6 separate regions of the Homo sapiens genome follow, and all the other regions are linked to region 5. Evidence: promoter capture Hi-C in 16 types of primary human blood cells and fetal thymus (Javierre and others, 2016). All regions are on one chromosome and are shown on one strand. The core of a region is centred on a gene start or on the middle of the fragment in contact, and the rest is flanking DNA. Distances in the headings are between cores, read along the strand shown.

What was found. Contacts are between HindIII fragments. The CHiCAGO score rates a contact against its expected background, and 5 or more counts as called.
Region 1: a contact is called between a fragment that was not itself captured here and the fragment with the promoter of CABYR in region 5, in 1 of 17 cell types (non-activated CD4 T cells). The highest score is 6.8, in non-activated CD4 T cells.
Region 2: a fragment that was not itself captured here is called in contact with the fragment with the promoter of CABYR in region 5 in 3 of 17 cell types (total CD4 T cells, naive CD4 T cells and non-activated CD4 T cells); the score reaches 9.4 in total CD4 T cells.
Region 3: a fragment that was not itself captured here is called in contact with the fragment with the promoter of CABYR in region 5 in 1 of 17 cell types (total CD4 T cells); the score reaches 6.0 in total CD4 T cells.
Region 4: a fragment that was not itself captured here is called in contact with the fragment with the promoter of CABYR in region 5 in 1 of 17 cell types (total CD8 T cells); the score reaches 5.1 in total CD8 T cells.
Region 6: a fragment that was not itself captured here is called in contact with the fragment with the promoter of CABYR in region 5 in 2 of 17 cell types (activated CD4 T cells and total CD4 T cells); the score reaches 6.2 in activated CD4 T cells.

What each region holds. Positions count from the first base shown.
Region 1 is chr18:23,592,807-23,595,506 of GRCh38, forward strand. No RefSeq gene overlaps it. Among named protein-coding and RNA genes, the nearest start is that of NPC1, 7.7 kb to the left of the region's middle. The HindIII fragment of the contact is 6,264 bases long and covers 1-2,700 here.
Region 2 is chr18:23,472,084-23,474,783 of GRCh38, forward strand. It overlaps RIOK3 (RIO kinase 3), which reads left to right. Exons shown (of 13, transcript NM_003831.5): 8 at 1,346-1,543. Among named protein-coding and RNA genes, the nearest start is that of RIOK3, 20 kb to the left of the region's middle. The HindIII fragment of the contact is 639 bases long and covers 1,079-1,717 here.
Region 3 is chr18:23,540,583-23,543,282 of GRCh38, forward strand. It overlaps NPC1 (NPC intracellular cholesterol transporter 1), which reads right to left. Exons shown (of 25, transcript NM_000271.5): 15 at 724-851; 16 at 486-626. Among named protein-coding and RNA genes, the nearest start is that of RMC1, 38 kb to the left of the region's middle. RefSeq lists an enhancer at 1,696-1,745. The HindIII fragment of the contact is 2,377 bases long and covers 63-2,439 here.
Region 4 is chr18:23,521,413-23,524,112 of GRCh38, forward strand. All of the region lies in intron 10 of RMC1 (regulator of MON1-CCZ1), which reads left to right. It also overlaps a transcript of NPC1 not described here. Among named protein-coding and RNA genes, the nearest start is that of RMC1, 19 kb to the left of the region's middle. The HindIII fragment of the contact is 906 bases long and covers 824-1,729 here.
Region 5 is chr18:24,137,662-24,140,361 of GRCh38, forward strand. CABYR (calcium binding tyrosine phosphorylation regulated) reads left to right here and starts at 1,401. Exons shown (of 6, transcript NM_153769.3): 1 at 1,401-1,457. RefSeq lists an enhancer at 986-1,045. The HindIII fragment of the contact is 10,284 bases long and covers 1-2,700 here.
Region 6 is chr18:23,612,566-23,615,265 of GRCh38, forward strand. All of the region lies in intron 8 of ANKRD29 (ankyrin repeat domain 29), which reads right to left. Among named protein-coding and RNA genes, the nearest start is that of NPC1, 27 kb to the left of the region's middle. The HindIII fragment of the contact is 880 bases long and covers 978-1,857 here.

The DNA of each region.
Region 1 (2,700 bases), core at 154-2,653, 540 kb before region 5:
GGTGGGCGGATCACTTGAGGTCAGGAGTTCGAGACCAGCCTGGCCAACATGGTGAAACCCTGTCTCCACTAAAAATACAAAAATTAGCCGGGCATGGTTGCACATGTCTGTAATCTCAACTACTCGGGAGGCTGAGGCAGGTGAATTGCTTGAACCCAGGAGGCCGAGGTTCCAGTGAGCTGAGATCATGCCACTGCACTCCTGCCTGGGTGACTGAGCAAGACTCTGTCTCAAAAAAAAAAAAAAAAAAGATGCTGTGGGAAGGAGGCCTCAGTTCCTCCTCTCCATAGGCTGCTGAGTGTCCTCAGGACTTGGCAGCTGGCTTCCTCCAGAAGGAGTGATCCAAAAGGGATTGAGAGCAAGGCAGAGCCATAATGTCTGTTATGAGTTAGCCTCAAATGTTATATGCCATCACTTCTGCCATGTAATACTGGGCACACAGACCAGTCCTGATGCAGTGTAGGAAGGGGACCAGACAAGGACAAGAGGAGGGGAGCACTGGGGCCATCTTGGAGGCTGGCAACCACAACATCCATGTAGCCAACACCCAGAGGAAGGATATGGAAACTTTAGCACTTCAGAAGCCTCCTTTATGCCCCTTTCCCAGTCGATATCATCACCCCTCCTTTAACCGGGAGGCAACCACTCTTCTGATTTCTCTCACTGTAAGTTGGTTTTGCCTGTCCTTGAACTTCATGTAAAGGGAATCATACTCCTCTGCGTCTGGTTTCTTTCACTGAACATTATGTGTGTGGCTCATCCACATTACTTGTGGTGGTAGCATCTTTTAAAAGAATTGCTGTGTAGTATTCCATGGCTCAAACATATCATGGCAGACATCTGGGTTGTTTCTTCTTCCAGTTTGGGCTGTTACAAATAAAGGTGCTGTGAGCACTGTTGTACAGGTCATGTGTTCAGTATACACACTCAATTACTTTGGGTTCTGTGATAGACTTTTTAAACTCTTTACTTACGCAAGCCAAATTTTATAGACATCTTCATTTAAAATAGCTTACAGCTACAACTCATGACTTTAGTACCAATGGTTATGACCTACTCGGAAATGGGCATTGTTGCTCAGAATTCTGGTAAAATGTTACTCATCCTAGTAAGGAAGGATGTTTGAGTTGGTGATTAATCCAGTCATGGGTTGTGGTGTAACTTCCACTCAGTTAGGATGCTACCAGAGTTGGAATGACTTGTGGTTTAGCAGTCAGGGTTTCAAACTGGCATTGCCTTCCCTGCAGGATTTGCTCACAGGACATAGTTTCCTTTGCCAGGGGTGGTTTTTGATCAAATGTTTCCTAAAATGGAGAGTCCAACTCCTGTAAACTGAAGACTTTCTAAGACTATTCTTAAAACTTGAAATGTAGGAATAACAACAGCATTTCACTCATTAAAGCTCGGAGGATTCAATCCTAGTGAGGGAGGGAAGAAGAACCAAAGATAGCGGAAGGAATTTTTTCTGTTGACAGAGATAAGGCTGACATGTCACCTAAGAACTGAAGATCTTTAATTAACTTCCTTTATGTTATTTTTATTTTACTTTATTTTATTTTTACTTTTTGAGATGGAGTCACACTCTGTCGCCCAGGCTGGAGTTCAGTGGTGCGATCTTGGCTCACTGCAACCTCCGCCTCCTGGGTTCAAGTGATTTTCCTGCCTCAGCCTCCTGAGTAGCTGGGATTATGGGCGCCCACCACCACACCTGGCTAATTTATTAAGTTTTAGTAGGGACAGGGTTTCGGCATGTTGGCCAGGCTGGTCTCGACCTCCTGGCCTCAAGTGATCTGCCCGCCTTGGCCTCCCAAAGTGCTGGGATTATAGATGTGAGCCACTGTGCCTAGCTGAATTCCTTTGTTGAAACATAACCTCATTCATATTAATAAATTAATTTTTTTTTTGAGAGAGAGGGAATTGCTCTATTACCCAGGCTGGAGTGCAGTAGTGAGATCACAGCTCGACCTCCCAAGGCTCAAGTGATCCTCCTACCTTAGCCTCCTGAGTAGCTGGGACTTCTGGCACACACCACCATGCCAGGCTAATTTTTTGTATTTTTTGTACAGACGGAGTCTCACTTTGTTGCCCAGGCTAGTCTCAAACTCTTGGGCTCAAGTGCTTTTCCCACCCCAGCCTCCCAAAGTGCTGGGATTAGAAGCATGAGCCACCATGCCTAGCCTCACTCATATTTTAAAATTACCTGAAAGTATTGCTAAAAATAAGGATTAGGTCACCAGGAAAAGAATCGAAGACTTTCCAGACCCAGTGATACATAGGTTATTTAACTGAGGGCTAAGTATAGTCAGAGGGCCCAGAGAAAACACCTCTGTGTGACTAGTTTACCCTCCATGTGTTCATTACATTAAGCAGAAGAATAATTATTTTCACATTTCTCGACTAGAATGTCTAATGCTAGTTTTGCCTGTCATTTTTTGTTTTTGTTTTTCTCCATGCTTTGAAGTACAAATACTAGGGTCTGAGCTGCTATGGCTCAATGGCATGAAATATCATAACATGGTGTGGCTTTGTTCACAGCCAGGCATGTTCTAAGCACTTTAGCATCTTTTCACAGTGAGATGAAGTTCACCAATTTGGCTGGGCAAGGTGGCTCATGCCTGTAATCCTAGCACTTTGAGAGGCCAAGGCAGGCAGATCGCTTGAGTCCAAGATTTGGAGGCCAGCCTGGGCAACATGGCGAAA
Region 2 (2,700 bases), core at 148-2,647, 670 kb before region 5:
TTAGCCGGGCGTGGTGGCATGCACGTGTAATCCCAGCTACTCAAGAGGCTGAGGCAGGAGAATAGCTTGAACCCGGGAGGTGGAGGTTGCAGTGAGCCAGGATTGCACCACTGTACTCCAGCCTGGGTGACAAAGTGAGACTCTGTCTCAAAAAAAAAAAGAAATGTGGGAGTTGTCTATATAGAGATGATATTTAGAGCCATGGGGCTAAGTGAAATTGCCCAGGAAGAGAAGGAAGGTTTCTTAGAACCAGGTGAAGGACTTTAACCTTTTGAGACTAAATGGAAGAGGAGTCAGCTGGGAGAATATGGTACAGAAGGAGGTTTGATTCAGATTCTGTCCTTTGGAAATATAGTTCCTTTCTTTCCCAGATTAACATCCTATCAGATATTTAAAGGTAAATATTAATATTGTTTCTCATTCCATCCACTTTTTCATTCCCACTGCCACCATCATGACTGAAGCTCACTATTGGGGGACTATTGCAGTAGCATCCTGAGTCGACCCCACACCTCTAGCCTGTCCCTGTGCCCTTCCATTCTGACAGTATCGTTCACTCGATCTTCATGAAGCACGCATTTGAGAGTGCCATACACAGAAACCCTCGCGATTCCCCACCACCTCTAGGAATTTGTCCAGGCTCTTCACAGATGTGCCTCTGTCCTGTCCTTTAGCTCCAATTTTTTTTCATTATCTCTCTCCAGCCAAGTCTTAACTATAGTGTTTGTTGTTCCTCAGACATGTCCTGTGGTTTCCTGCCTCTGCTTTTGTTCATGCTGTTCAAATCCTACCCATTGTCCTGTTTCTGTTTCAGATGGCACTTGTGCCATGAAGTCTTGCCTGACCTTTCCAATGAAGAGGGACCTTTCCTATTCATGTACTTCTTTTATTCTCCGTTGCCACTTCTTGCAGACTTGTGGGGCAGGAACCATTTGATTCACCTTTATGTCTGCTAGGAGTGAAAGAGTTATTTTTTAAAAAGCTGTTTTATTTGTTGCTTTTTATTGAATTTTGCTCCTGAACCATATTGGGAAGACTGTAGCCTATTTTCAAGTGCATATGTCTTCATTGTATTTCAAGCTTGATTCCGTAGTCATTAAGTGAAGAACATTATGTGATAGATGGTTGAAAATCGGTTGACAATTTATTTGAAAGTATATTTTATTTAAAAAATCAAACCAAAACCTAAGGCTTTATTAAGATCCAAAACCTAAAGGCTTAAAAAAACAAGACTTGACACTGAGAGAAGGTAGATCTAATTTAGTGTTACAGAATCTTTATTTTGAAATTGTTGTACTTGTGAGCTGGCAACTTGTACTGACTTGATTTTTTTTCTTCCACTTAGCATGGAGGATGAAAAGGAAGATAGTAAAGTTATACCTACAGAATGTGCCATCAAGGTATTTAAAACAACCCTTAATGAATTTAAGAATCGTGACAAATATATTAAAGATGATTTCAGGTTTAAAGATCGCTTCAGTAAACTAAATCCACGTAAGATCATCCGCATGTGGGCAGAAAAAGAAATGCACAATCTCGCAAGGTAAAGAAAATATTGTGCTAGACGTAATCTTGGGTAAATACCTTTTTGCATTAGGATAAAAAAATCCATGCTTTCTTTTACATTCATTTATAGAAATAATGAAAGGCCAGGTGTATAACCTCGATTCATACTTTTAGGATGAAAAAGCCATTTTCTTTTTTCTTTCCTCAATGAAGCTTGAGGGAAATCTGGGCATTTTCTGCCTTAGACACTTTATCATATATCTAAATGCCATTTTTAAATTGCTTTTATCACGAAGTAAAACTTCCAGCATCCAATTAGGCTTAGCATAAAAAAATGGTTTCTTTTTTGTTTCAGAAAATGTTTGTTGCATTTAATTTGTTAATTTTGTGGGAGTAAGTTCTTACCAATCAAATTACATTTTGTTTTAATTTTTATACTTGTATCTGAATTTTCTAAGCAATTTATTTTCTATCAAAGAATTTGTTTTGTCAACCAAGAAATTCAGTAATAATCCTTCTCATTAAAAACCTTTCTATTATCTTAATTTATTAAAAGCTTAATTTTAGTTTGTTATTTTCTAAAGATATTTGCTTTCAAAAGTAATTATTCATATATATCAGTTACAAAATTCTTCTACTGAGAGTTCCCCACCAAAATAAGCCAGGCATGGTGTGCACGTGTACTCCCAGCTACTTGGGAGGCTGAGATGGGAGGACTGCTTGAACCTAGGAGTTCAAAACCAGCCTGGAAACGTTAGACTCCCAAGACCTTGTCTCAAAAAGAAAAAAAAATGTTTTTTCAATAAATTAATTAATTCCAGGTAGAATCATTTTCTAGAAGGTCTTGCTGTCCTCCAGTCTCTTTTCTGTACTCCTGAAATTCCTGCCTTTCTTAAAATTCTTCAACAGTTTTCCATAGTGGAGCTTGCCTGTCTTTGTAGCCTCAGCCCACATTGCCCTTCCTCCTACTCACAGATCCAGCTATGTTGATTGATATACATTCCCCAAATGGACTGTGCTCTTGAACACCTCCCTGCATTCCCTTGCACTGTCTTTATCTGGCTAATTCCTGTTCCCTACCTCTTCTTCTAATAAGCCATCCTTGGTGCTGTGTGCTCCTGTAGCTCCTACCCATACCTCTGCCAGTGCGTAATTGTAATTGTCTCTTGTCTGTCATTTCCATCAGTCCCTGAG
Region 3 (2,700 bases), core at 1-2,500, 600 kb before region 5:
AGCTTACGACCAGAAATAAAATCTTAAGCACACACAAAAAGCAGGATTTTTTAAAATGGAAAAGCTTAAATGACAGGCTAATAGGGAGTACAGGGCAGTGGGTGAGACCACAGCACCAGGAGTCCAAATTCCTGGGTGCAAATCCTGACTCTGCCACTTACGGGCTGAGTGACTTGGGGCAAACCACTTCACCTCTCTTGGCTTCTATTTCCTCATTATTAAGAGGAAAAATAAAAGTTTCTTTGCAACTTTCTGTGAATCTGAAACTATTTCAAAATAAAAAACTTAAAACTCTTGTTTATATGGACTGATAAAAGCTCACAGGAAAAACATTTTATCTACTGTTCCACATTTGCTTTTGCTTTTTTTTTAGATACATTTTAACAGCTTTAAGAATCTCCTTCCCAGGCTGTCTGGCTTCTTAGAAGGCATGTGATAATCTGTTTCAGTGAGAGGAAAGAGAAAAACCACAGATAAGCGCATACCACAATTGGTCTCATCCAGTCCTTTAGCAGAAGTGGAGAATAGGAGTTTTTGAAGAAGCGAAACAAACAGCTCTCTGAGGCCTGGACGCTTGTTCCATCTTCAGCACCTCTGACACAGCAAAAGATGTCTAGCCGATTTTTCTGAGGGGACAGAGGGAAACAAAGGTTATACCCGCTAGCTGCTTCCTCTAGATTCTAGACTCAAATTAAATAGACTATAATCCTGGCACCAACTTACCTCTTGACGTTTAATGTCTAACCCCAAGAGACTCACGAAACAGGTAATCTGCAGAAGAAAGTCAATGAAGACTGCCAATCCCGCAAAGAGAGAGAAGGTGTGCACGGCTGGCATCACGGACAATGCTCCTGTCGGGGAGAGAAGGGCTCTGCGTCACTTCTGTTTACAGCCGGGGGCTCTCTGCAGGTCTTATGTTCATGTGCATGTACAGATACAAGGAGCCAGCACAGGCCAAACGCATGAGAAGGCATGCTGCGGCTGGACATTACACCAGAAGTGGGACAGGAGGTGATAAGCCAGTGCTTTTCAAAGCACACTCAGCACCAGACCATTTGGGAAGCCCCATCCTAGTTATGACAGGAATTCAACCCCAATTCTACTATACTCAGGTTCACAGCAAATTCACACACATTAAAATTTGAGAACCACTAATACAGGCCATTTCTTATAGTACTTTCTGTGCTTCACTGTAAGAAATGGACAGTATTTTCCATTTATTACATCAACACTACTAGCCTCCCAGTTTAGTTAAGAGGTAATCTACAATCGAGTGAGGATCAAAGGCATGAGGGTAAGACTTGGAAACTGCAAACTGGCAGCCCATGAATCAGATGGTTCCTGTTTAGCCCACACTGTATCAACCCATCTTAAGATTAAAAAACTTTTTTTTATAAGTTGCCAATATTTAACAATGGCATTTTACACAAAAATCTAGATTCACAGCTTTGCTTGGAAGAAAAACAACAACAACAACACAGACCTTGTAGCACTGGGTTGGCCACACACATAACTGTCTTTTTAGATAGGACACGTGCAGTTGGGGTGCCACAATCCCTACTCACTCCTACTGTCCCAAGGTCACTCCAACCTTGAGGCACAGTCTCTGCTGCTATTATCATCACACTTGCACTGGTTTTCTTATAATAGTAGTGAAAAAAAGAAAGTTTTTTCTTTTTTTTTTTTTTTTCTGCACCTGTGTTTGTCAAAAGGAACTACAGGGCTACAGGTTTCAAAAGCACATGGCTTTGTGGAGATGAAGAATAACAAGCTAGCAGTGTATCTGTGGTGAAAGACTACCACCTACAATGACCTTACAATGGCCCTGATTAAGCTGACCTCCCAGCCATGTAGGCATTGCAGTTTGTGGCCCGTGGATGGTCTTCTTTGGACTGAGTGATTCCAGTCCAGCCTCCCCTATAGTGGACAGAGTCACTTTGCTCTTACTACACTTCAGACATGGGGCAGACAGCCCCACTAGTGGGTCTATTTGATGATTCTCTATGTGAAAGAAACACAGAAGTGCTGACTTTGTTCCAGCTTATTCTGGCTCCTTGTAATGTGGTGAGTCAAGAGCTTCTGGTCATTAACAAGGCTGCTTCCCCAATGAGTTGTGTGCACAGAAGAGAAAGACTGCCTTTGAAAACAACGGCAAACATCTTGTAAGCGAGTGCCTGTGGATTTGGGAGCTGCTGCTTAGAGTGTCATGTGGAGAAGGATTCAGTGGCTACTCAAGGATGCCATTTTCAACTATCAACATTCCCAGTGGCTACTAAAAGGGGAAAGTGGCAAGACGAACTCTAGGTCTCTTTCACCCTGAACCCCAACATCAATGCTGTCCTGACAGTTAAATGAGAAGGAAGCCACTTGCAAAATCACACCTAAGTTACTGCTGCCAATTTTTCTGTGGTCCAGTGATACTTTCCCAGTGCAGAACAAAGCTTAAAAAAAGGAGACAACACGGGCTGGGCACGGGGGCTCACGCCTGTAATCTCAGCACTTTGGGAGGCCGAGGCAGGTACATCACCTGAGGTCAGGAGTTCGAGACCAGCCTGGCCAACATGGTGAAACCCCATCTCTATTAAAAATGCAAAAAATTAACTGGGCATGGTGGTACGTGCCTTTAATCCCAGCTATTTGGGAGGCTGAGGCAGGAAAATCGCTTGAACCCGGGAGGCGGAGGCTGCAGTGAGCCGAGAT
Region 4 (2,700 bases), core at 27-2,526, 620 kb before region 5:
AACCTGGGATCACTTTTCTCTTTCTCACATTCCGTGTGACAGTGATGATGAATATTGCATTCTTTGGGACTGACAGTCACAGTAAGTGCTTCGGCTGTGGCTCTTAGGCTTACCCAAATCAGTCCTCCTTCTGTCTGGAGAGGTGGGGTTGGGAAGTCAGAAGAGTGGAGGTCAGGAATTCAGGAAAAGGGAAAGAAGTCATTTATTTGCTTCGTTTTGCCTTTTTCCAGTGTAATTGATTTTAAGATAGAACTGAAAGAATATTCAACACACACTCTCTCTCTTTTTTTTTTTTCCTTAAACAGAACTTTATTTTCTCACAGTTCTGGAGGCTAGAAGTTCAAGATCAAGATGTCTGCAGGTTTGCTTTCTTCTGAGGCCTCCCTCCTGGCAGGCCTCTTTGCAGATGGCCACCTTCTCACTGTGTTCTCACAGGGTCTTTCTTCTGTGCCTGTCCCTCGCAGCAGTCTCTCCCGGCTCTCTTTTGAAGGAGATTGGAGTGCAGAATTGGCTAGTCTGAGGTTTCAGTGTGCAAGACGTAGTCAGATGGCTCACATTTGGAACCCTAGTAGTAATGTTTTATTCTTTGTCCGATGGCATTGGGCGGGTTGACCCAGCCTGCAGTCAGGATTTCCTTGTACCGTTCACCCGGGAGTTCAGAATCGCACTCTGGCTGAAAGTTCAGCAAGAGCACCATTGTCAGCCTGACTGCCCTGTCTTGCTGGACCAGCCAAAAGCTTAGTTACTTTCTGGCACAGTTGGAGGAAGGAGCTGGTTCTTAACAGACGTTCAATTAGGTCTTTTGGCTTTCTGTGTTCTTTCAAGCTTCTTCCTTTTCCTTTGTAAATAATGTTAGTATTGAAAGAATAGATTTTGCCAAGTGATTGTCTTGTGTCTGCTGCCCACTTGGCATGAAGGTAACTGCTGGTGAATTGGGGGAAAAAAACTAAACATTTAGAACAAGCCTGTCCAACCCACGGTCTGTGGGCCACATGTGGCCCAGGACAGCTTTGAATGCAGCCCAACACAAATTCTTAAACTTTCTTAAAACATTATGAGATTTTTTTAATGATATTTTTTAAGCTCATCAGCTATTGTTAGTGTTAGTGTATTTTATGTGTGGCCCAAGACCATTCTTCTTCTTCCTCTTAAGGCCCAGGGAAGCCAAAACATTGGACACCCCTGGCTTAGAACCTTCAGCTCTGTTCCGGTGGTACAGGACCAGTTAGGAGGCATCAGGTTCTAACCATCTGGTCATAAGGGAACAGATGCGAGGCCTGGTCACAGTAACAGCCCGTGCAGAGATCAATAGGAGGAAATCAGGAATCCACTGAGGGTCTGGGGATCTAGGTAGTGTGGGCTGCAAAGCATTTTCAGAGGTTAGTGACTCTCCTTTTGTTTCCTGCTGGGCTGTGAGCCCTGGCGGCTTGATGCATCCGTGTGTCTTGCCCACTGTGCTGCCACTGGGTGGGCGTGCTCAGGAATTGAATGGGCCTGTTGAGAAAGATATAACCAGCACTTTTGGGAAGAGTCAGCCACCCTTTTTCTTTTTGTTTTGGGCCTGTTAGAACAGTGGGTCTCAATCTGACTACATATTAGGATCATCTGGGGGGCCTTAAAAATGAAAGCTCTCACCTGACAGTGTGTAGGTCAGCCACCCAAAGGTGAGGGCTGTGCACTCGGCGCAGACCTTGACACTTAGGTCCAAAGCGCGAGTGCTCTTCGCCAAAGCTTGTCTGCCTGGGCTCTTTCCTACCTTTGGGTGGTCTGTTCACAATGACCCTTTCTCTGACCAGCTGATTGAAACCTGCCTTCTGATTGTACCTGGGTAATTGGAACAGAACCAGGAGTCATGGTTAGCTTGTAGGGCTGCCTGCATGGCTCATGAGCAGTATAACTGGTTGTTAACGGTCCCTGTCATGTGAGGTTTTGGGGGTCTGCTTCCCAGACGAGCTCACTGTGCTTGGACCTACTCTATGCAATGGATAATCGAACTAATTATTTAGATAATTAAGTGGCTGGGCACAGTGGCTCATGCCTGTAATCGCAGCATGTTGGGAGGCTGAGGTGGGCAGATCACTTAAGCCCAGGAGTTGGAGACCAGCCTAGGTAACATAGACCTTGTCTTCACAAAAAAAAAAAAAAAAAAAAAAAAAAGAAAAAAAGTTAGGGCATGGTCACATGCCTGTAGTCCTAGCTACTCTGAAGGCTGAGGCAGGAGGACCACTTGAGCCAAGGAGTTCGTGGTTATAGTGGGCTATGATCAACTACTGCACTCAAGCCTGGACAGCAGAGCAACACCCTCTCTTAAAGAAAAAAAAAGATAATTAAGCTACAAGCCACATTTATTTGAAACATTCTCCGTGGATGATCTGGGTATTTGATTTTGAATCCTTCAAGTAAATTTCTCAGTTCCTTAACGTGCATATGTAAACGATCATGAGTCATCTTTGGTTATTAAAAATAACCCAAACCACAGTGATTGAAGCCTTGACATGCTTTCTTTTTCTTGGTGAGATTTTCCTGGATTGTTAGCTCCTTCCCCCTTCCTCCCCGTACGTGCTTTCAGTGAGACGGAACAGTTCATTTCTTCCTTGACTACAATTGAATAAACATTTCGTAATGACATTAAAAAGTATTGACTTTTGTGTCATAAGTACCAGCATTTGCAGCATTTTCTGACTGCATCGTTGCACTTAT
Region 5 (2,700 bases), core at 151-2,650:
TTGTTTTGTTTTGTGAGACGGAGTCTCGCTAATTCTCCCTTTTTAAGTATGTAAACTTCCCGAGAAGAGGGAGCTTTCCTGGCACTCAGTAAAATAATTATTAAGTGGATTAATGAATGGCACCAGATAATGCTGACTGAGGCCTTAACATTGCTTTTATTGCAAAGTGCTCTGGAAGCCCTAATTTTTTCTGAATTAAAAAATAGGGTTTTGTTTTATTTTGGTTTGGTTTTTGTTTTGTTTTGTTTTGTTTTTGGTCAGATATCTGCCCTGGCGATGCTCTTTGGTTTAAAGTAGTTGCTTTTTAAACATTTGAAGATGGATCAAAATTAAGGCTGCTTGTACTCTGATAATCATGATTATGGTGTTATTTAGAGCCCAGCCCAAATACCTGAGCCTAAATGAGTGAAAGAGCAGAGAGTGGGCGTTTTTTTGTTTTTTTTGTTTTGTTTTTTGTTTTTTTGAGACGGAGTCTCGCTCAGTAGCCCAGGCTGGAGTGCAGTGGTGTGATCTGGGCTCACTGCAACCTCCGCCTCCCAGGTTCAAGCAATTCTCTGCCTCAACCTCCAGAGTAGCTGGGATTACAGGCACCCACCACCACGACCGGCTAATATTTTGTATTTTTAGTAGAGACAGGGTTTCACCATCTTGGCCAGGCTGGTCTTGAACTCCTGACCTCGTGATCCACCCGCCTCGGCCTCCGAAAGTGCTGGGATTACAGGCGTGAGCCACCGTGCCCGGCAGAGTGGGCGTTTTTAAATGAAGCAGTATTCCTTTAGTTTGGTAAAATTGAGCTGAAGTTACACACAGTAACACCTTGACTTGTTGCTGACGGTGTGCTTTGTGGGGATAGTTGGTGTCTGATCTCAACTGTGGAGAAACAGGAAGTTTCTGGATTCATGCTGAACTCCCATTCCACAGGCGAGTTTCACAAAAGAAAAAGTGCTCTGTTGCATACAATTATTCACTGTGTGTCTACAACGTGGCAGAAATTATTATTCCTAAAGGTGACCGAAGAGAGCTATAGTTTATGGGGCCAGGAGCAATGTGTGGAATGGCGAGGCAGTGACAAGACAGCACTGCCATAAATCTCTTACTTTCTTTCCAAACGAGCTCTAATTTTAAGCTCAACGACCAAAGACGGAGAGGCAGTCGCTTTGAGCTACTCCTGGCTATTTGTTGGGAAATCACCTAAATCCGTTCAGATTTAGCCAGAAAAGGGGAAATAAGTCTCCCTCGCCGGCCAAATCATGGCCTTTGTCGCTTTCGGCTCCCCATTGGCTGCGGCCGCTGTGGCCCCGCCTCCTTGAGTGGTGCGGAGCTTTGTGATGCGGAGCTTCGTGATGCACGCCCCGATGCCTGCGGGGCTATAAAAACGCTCGCAAGCGCCAAGTCTCCTCAGGAGCCGCCGGCAAGGGGGCAACGAGGAAGCTCTTAAGAGCGCGGCCGGAAAGCAGGTGGGGAGAATCTGGAGAAAAGGCGCACCCTGCGGCCTCGGAGACCATTATGTCTCAGGGAGTCTCTCGCAGTGGGAGAGGTCGTCGGGGCAGGCGGAGGGTCCTCAGAGTCGGGGGTGGGGGGCCTGTGGGGCGGCCCCGGCCCACACCGGGGAGTGCGGCGACCAGACGGCCAGCTGCCGAATCTGAGGCCTCGGTGGGTCCGTCGCCCGCCTCTCTTGGACAAGTCCAGGCGATGTGAGCACGCCCAGCCTCCTACATTTCACTCCCGTCTCTCCCAAACAGACCTAGCGCAAAACGAGCACTGACACAGCGGGGGCCCACATCCCGGAGGTTCTTTAGGGAGAGGTCGGGGAGTGCGGTTACCTATGGCTCCGAAGTCCCCGCTGGCATCCTGAAAGGCATCGTATTTCTCGCTTAAGGCGTTACCCTTGTGGTAGTGGGCGCATGGACGTTTACAGTTGGGCGGGGCAGGATTTAAATTCCGCCAGTGGTGGACCAGTATTGGTGATAGGAGAGATCTGGGAAGAATTATTAAGCTGTCGCTTTTAAATAACCCTAATAGTGTTTGTGACAATTTTACCCGTTGACTTTTCTCAGCTTGCTTAGGACAGTTCTTTGTGGGGAACTGAACTGTAGGACGTTTAGCGTCCCTGGCCCCACACGTTCCCAAAGTCGGGGTGAGAACTAGTGGGACGGGGGATCATGGAGTGCATGGCCGCTGTCCCCACCTTTGGTAGCACCAACTGCTAACTGCCTCCTGAAAGGTTGTTGGCGCCATCATGGTTTCTGGGAGCCACTTTCTTTTTTATTCTTTTTTTTTTTTTTTGAGACGGACTCTAGCTGTGTCACCCAGGCTGGAGTGCAGTGGCGCGATCTCGGCTGTCAGCTCCGCCTCCCGGATTCACGCCATTCTCCTGCCTCAGCCTCCCGAGTAGCTGGGACTACAGGCACCCGCCACCACGCCCGGCTGATTTTTTGTTTTAGTAGAGACGGGGTTTCACCGTGTTAGCCAGGATGGTCTCCATCTCCTGACCTCGCCTCGTGATCCGCCCGACTCGGCCTCCCAAAGTGCTGGGATTACAGGCGTGAGCCACCGCGCCCGGCCTCTGGGAGCCACTTTCAAAACGGTCTATCTACTCACTTTGGGTACTTAAAGAAAATTAGACATATGATATATATGAGTATGTATCAAATATATATATGTATCAAATAGTATGTATGTATCAAACATGTCATGCTG
Region 6 (2,700 bases), core at 168-2,667, 530 kb before region 5:
TTTGCTGAGCCACTTCCAGCGAGGTTAGAGGAAGAGCTGTTTAGCCAACGGGCTGACCTGTCAGACCAGCTACAGACACTCTGAGCACTCAGGTGGGCAGGACTGTGATTGTGGAGCTACAGGGCTTAAGAGGAAGGGTATGTGGGGTGAGGCAATGCCCCGGAGCTTTGAGTTGGAGCATTTTTGAGCACAGAAGGGCCTCATAGGTCAGTTGTTAATGTTTTATGACATTTACTGCAAATATTTATCAAAATAAGGAACCAGCTAAATGCAGCATGTAGCTGGACCACGGAGAGGAGGGGAGGAGACTATAACAAAACTAAGAACAGTGGGCAGTCATAAGACATGGTTCTAGAGGGTACATATGTCCATAAATAGTACCTAATGCAAACTTAGTTTCCTAATTAGTTGCTCATAATAAAAACCACTCTGATTTTGTAAAAGAGTAAAATATCATACCCAGAGAAAAATTCCCACAAAGTAGCATTTTTCTATGGTTGCTTTTAAGTATGTATGATAATTCACTACTCTTGTAACAATTTACTTGTCTAAATCTTAGCCAATCTATCAACTTCACCTACATGCAACACGGGTCAGAATTTTTTTTTTTTTTTTTTTTTTTTTGGAGACAGTGTCTCGCTCTGTCTCCCAGGCTGGAGTGCAATGGCGCAATCTCAGTTCACTGCAACCTCTGCCTCCAGGGCTCAAACGATTCTCGTGCCTCAGCCTCCTGAGTAGCTGGGACTACAGGTGTGTAACAGCCACTCTGCTAATTTTTGTATTTTTTGTAGAGACAGGGTTTCGCCATGTTGCCTGGGCTGGTCGCCAACTCCTGAGCTCAGGTGTTTTGCCCACCTCAGCCTCCCAAAGGGCTGGGATTACAGGTGTGAGCCACCATGCCTGACCAGGAGTTTTTAAAAAGCCAAAAAAGAGCTATTTGAAACAAGATTAGATTTTGCAAAGTTCAAGCTTTCTAAAGCTTGTTCCTTTTATTCATAGAATTCACTTTCATAGATGGTTTATTTTTACTTTACAATTTTTTTTTTTTTTTTGATACGGAGTCTTGCTTTGTCACCCAGGCTTGAGTGCAGTGGTGTGATCTCGGCTCACTGCAAGCTCTGCCTCCCGGGTTCACGCCATTCTCCTGCCTCAGTCTTCCAAGTAGCTGGCACTACAGGCGCCCGCCACACACCCGGCTAATTTTTTGTATTTTTAGTAGAGACAGGGTTTCACCGTGTTAGCCAGGATGGTCTTGATTTCCTGACCTCGTGATCCTCCTGCCTTGGCCTTCCAAAGTGCTGGGATTACAGGCATGAGCCCCCACGCCCAGCTAATTTTTGTATTTTTGTAGAGACAGGGTTTCATCATGTTGGCCAGGCTGGTCTTGAACTCCTGACCTCAGGTGATCCACCCGCCTTTGCCTCCCAAAGTGCTGGGATTACAAGCGTGAGCCAGTGTGCCCGGCCTTTACAAACAATTTTAACAAGTGCAGCTTTTTGGCCTCTTTTTTTTCTTTTTTCTGGAGATGGAGTTTTGCTCTTGTCACCTGGGCTGGAGTGCAGTGGCGTGATCTCGGCTCATTGCAACCTCTGCCTCCCAGGTTCTCCTGCCTCAAACTCCTGAGTAGCTGGGATTACAGGTGTACACCACCACTCTTGGCTTATTTTTGTATTTTTAGTAGAGACGGGGTTTCACCACATTGGCCAAGCTGGTCTTGAACTCCTAATCTCAGGTGATTCGCCCACCTTGGCCTCCCAAAGAGCTAGGATTACAGGTGTGAGCCACCACACCAGACCAGGAGTTTTTAAAAAGCCAAAAAAGAGCTGTTTGAAACAAGACTATATTTTGCAAAGTCCAAGCTTTCTAAAGCTTATTCCTTTTGTTCATAGAATTCATTTTCATAGATGGTTTATTCTTACTTTACAAACAATTTTAACAAGTGCAGCTTTCTGGCTTCTAAAGCTCATGGCAGGCCAGACACAGTGGCTCACACCTGTAATCCCAGCGCTTTAGGAGGCTGAGGCAGGAGGATGAGAGAATCACTTGAGCCCAGGAGTTCAAAGGTCAAGACCAGCCTGGGCAACATAGCGAGACCCTGTCTCCAAAAAAAAAAAAAAAAAGCTCATGGCAGATGAAAGTAGCTCATGAGCTCATTAGGGCAGGGGAGAGAGGCCAACACATTGACAACAGCAGTTCTGTATTAACTGTCAGCAAGAATGGAATCTAAAAATATAAAGAGCAGACACAAAATATCCAAAAAGTGTCTGGGGTCATTCAAGGGCAAGTAGGTTTTATATACATTGATAGACTCTGAGAGGACAGTCCTAAAGCTAAGCCGCTGTGTCCATTTAGAACAGATTTGGTGTCCTGTATGTAATAAAACAGGAGCATTATATCTCAGGGGTCAGCAAACCACAGCCTGCAAATCAAATCCTGCAAGCTAAGAACGGCTTCTACTTTTAAAAATTTTTGCAGAGGCAGGGTTTCACTCCGTTGCCCTGGCAGAAGTGCAAAGATACAATCACAGCTCACAGTAACCTTGAACTCCTGGGCTCAAGCAATCCTCCTGCCTCAGCTGGGACTACAGCCACACACCATGGCATCCATCTAATTTTTAAACTTTTGTAGAGATAGGGTCTTACTATATTCTCCAGGCTGGTCTCTAACTCCTGGCCTCAAGCAGTCTTCCTGCCTCAGCCT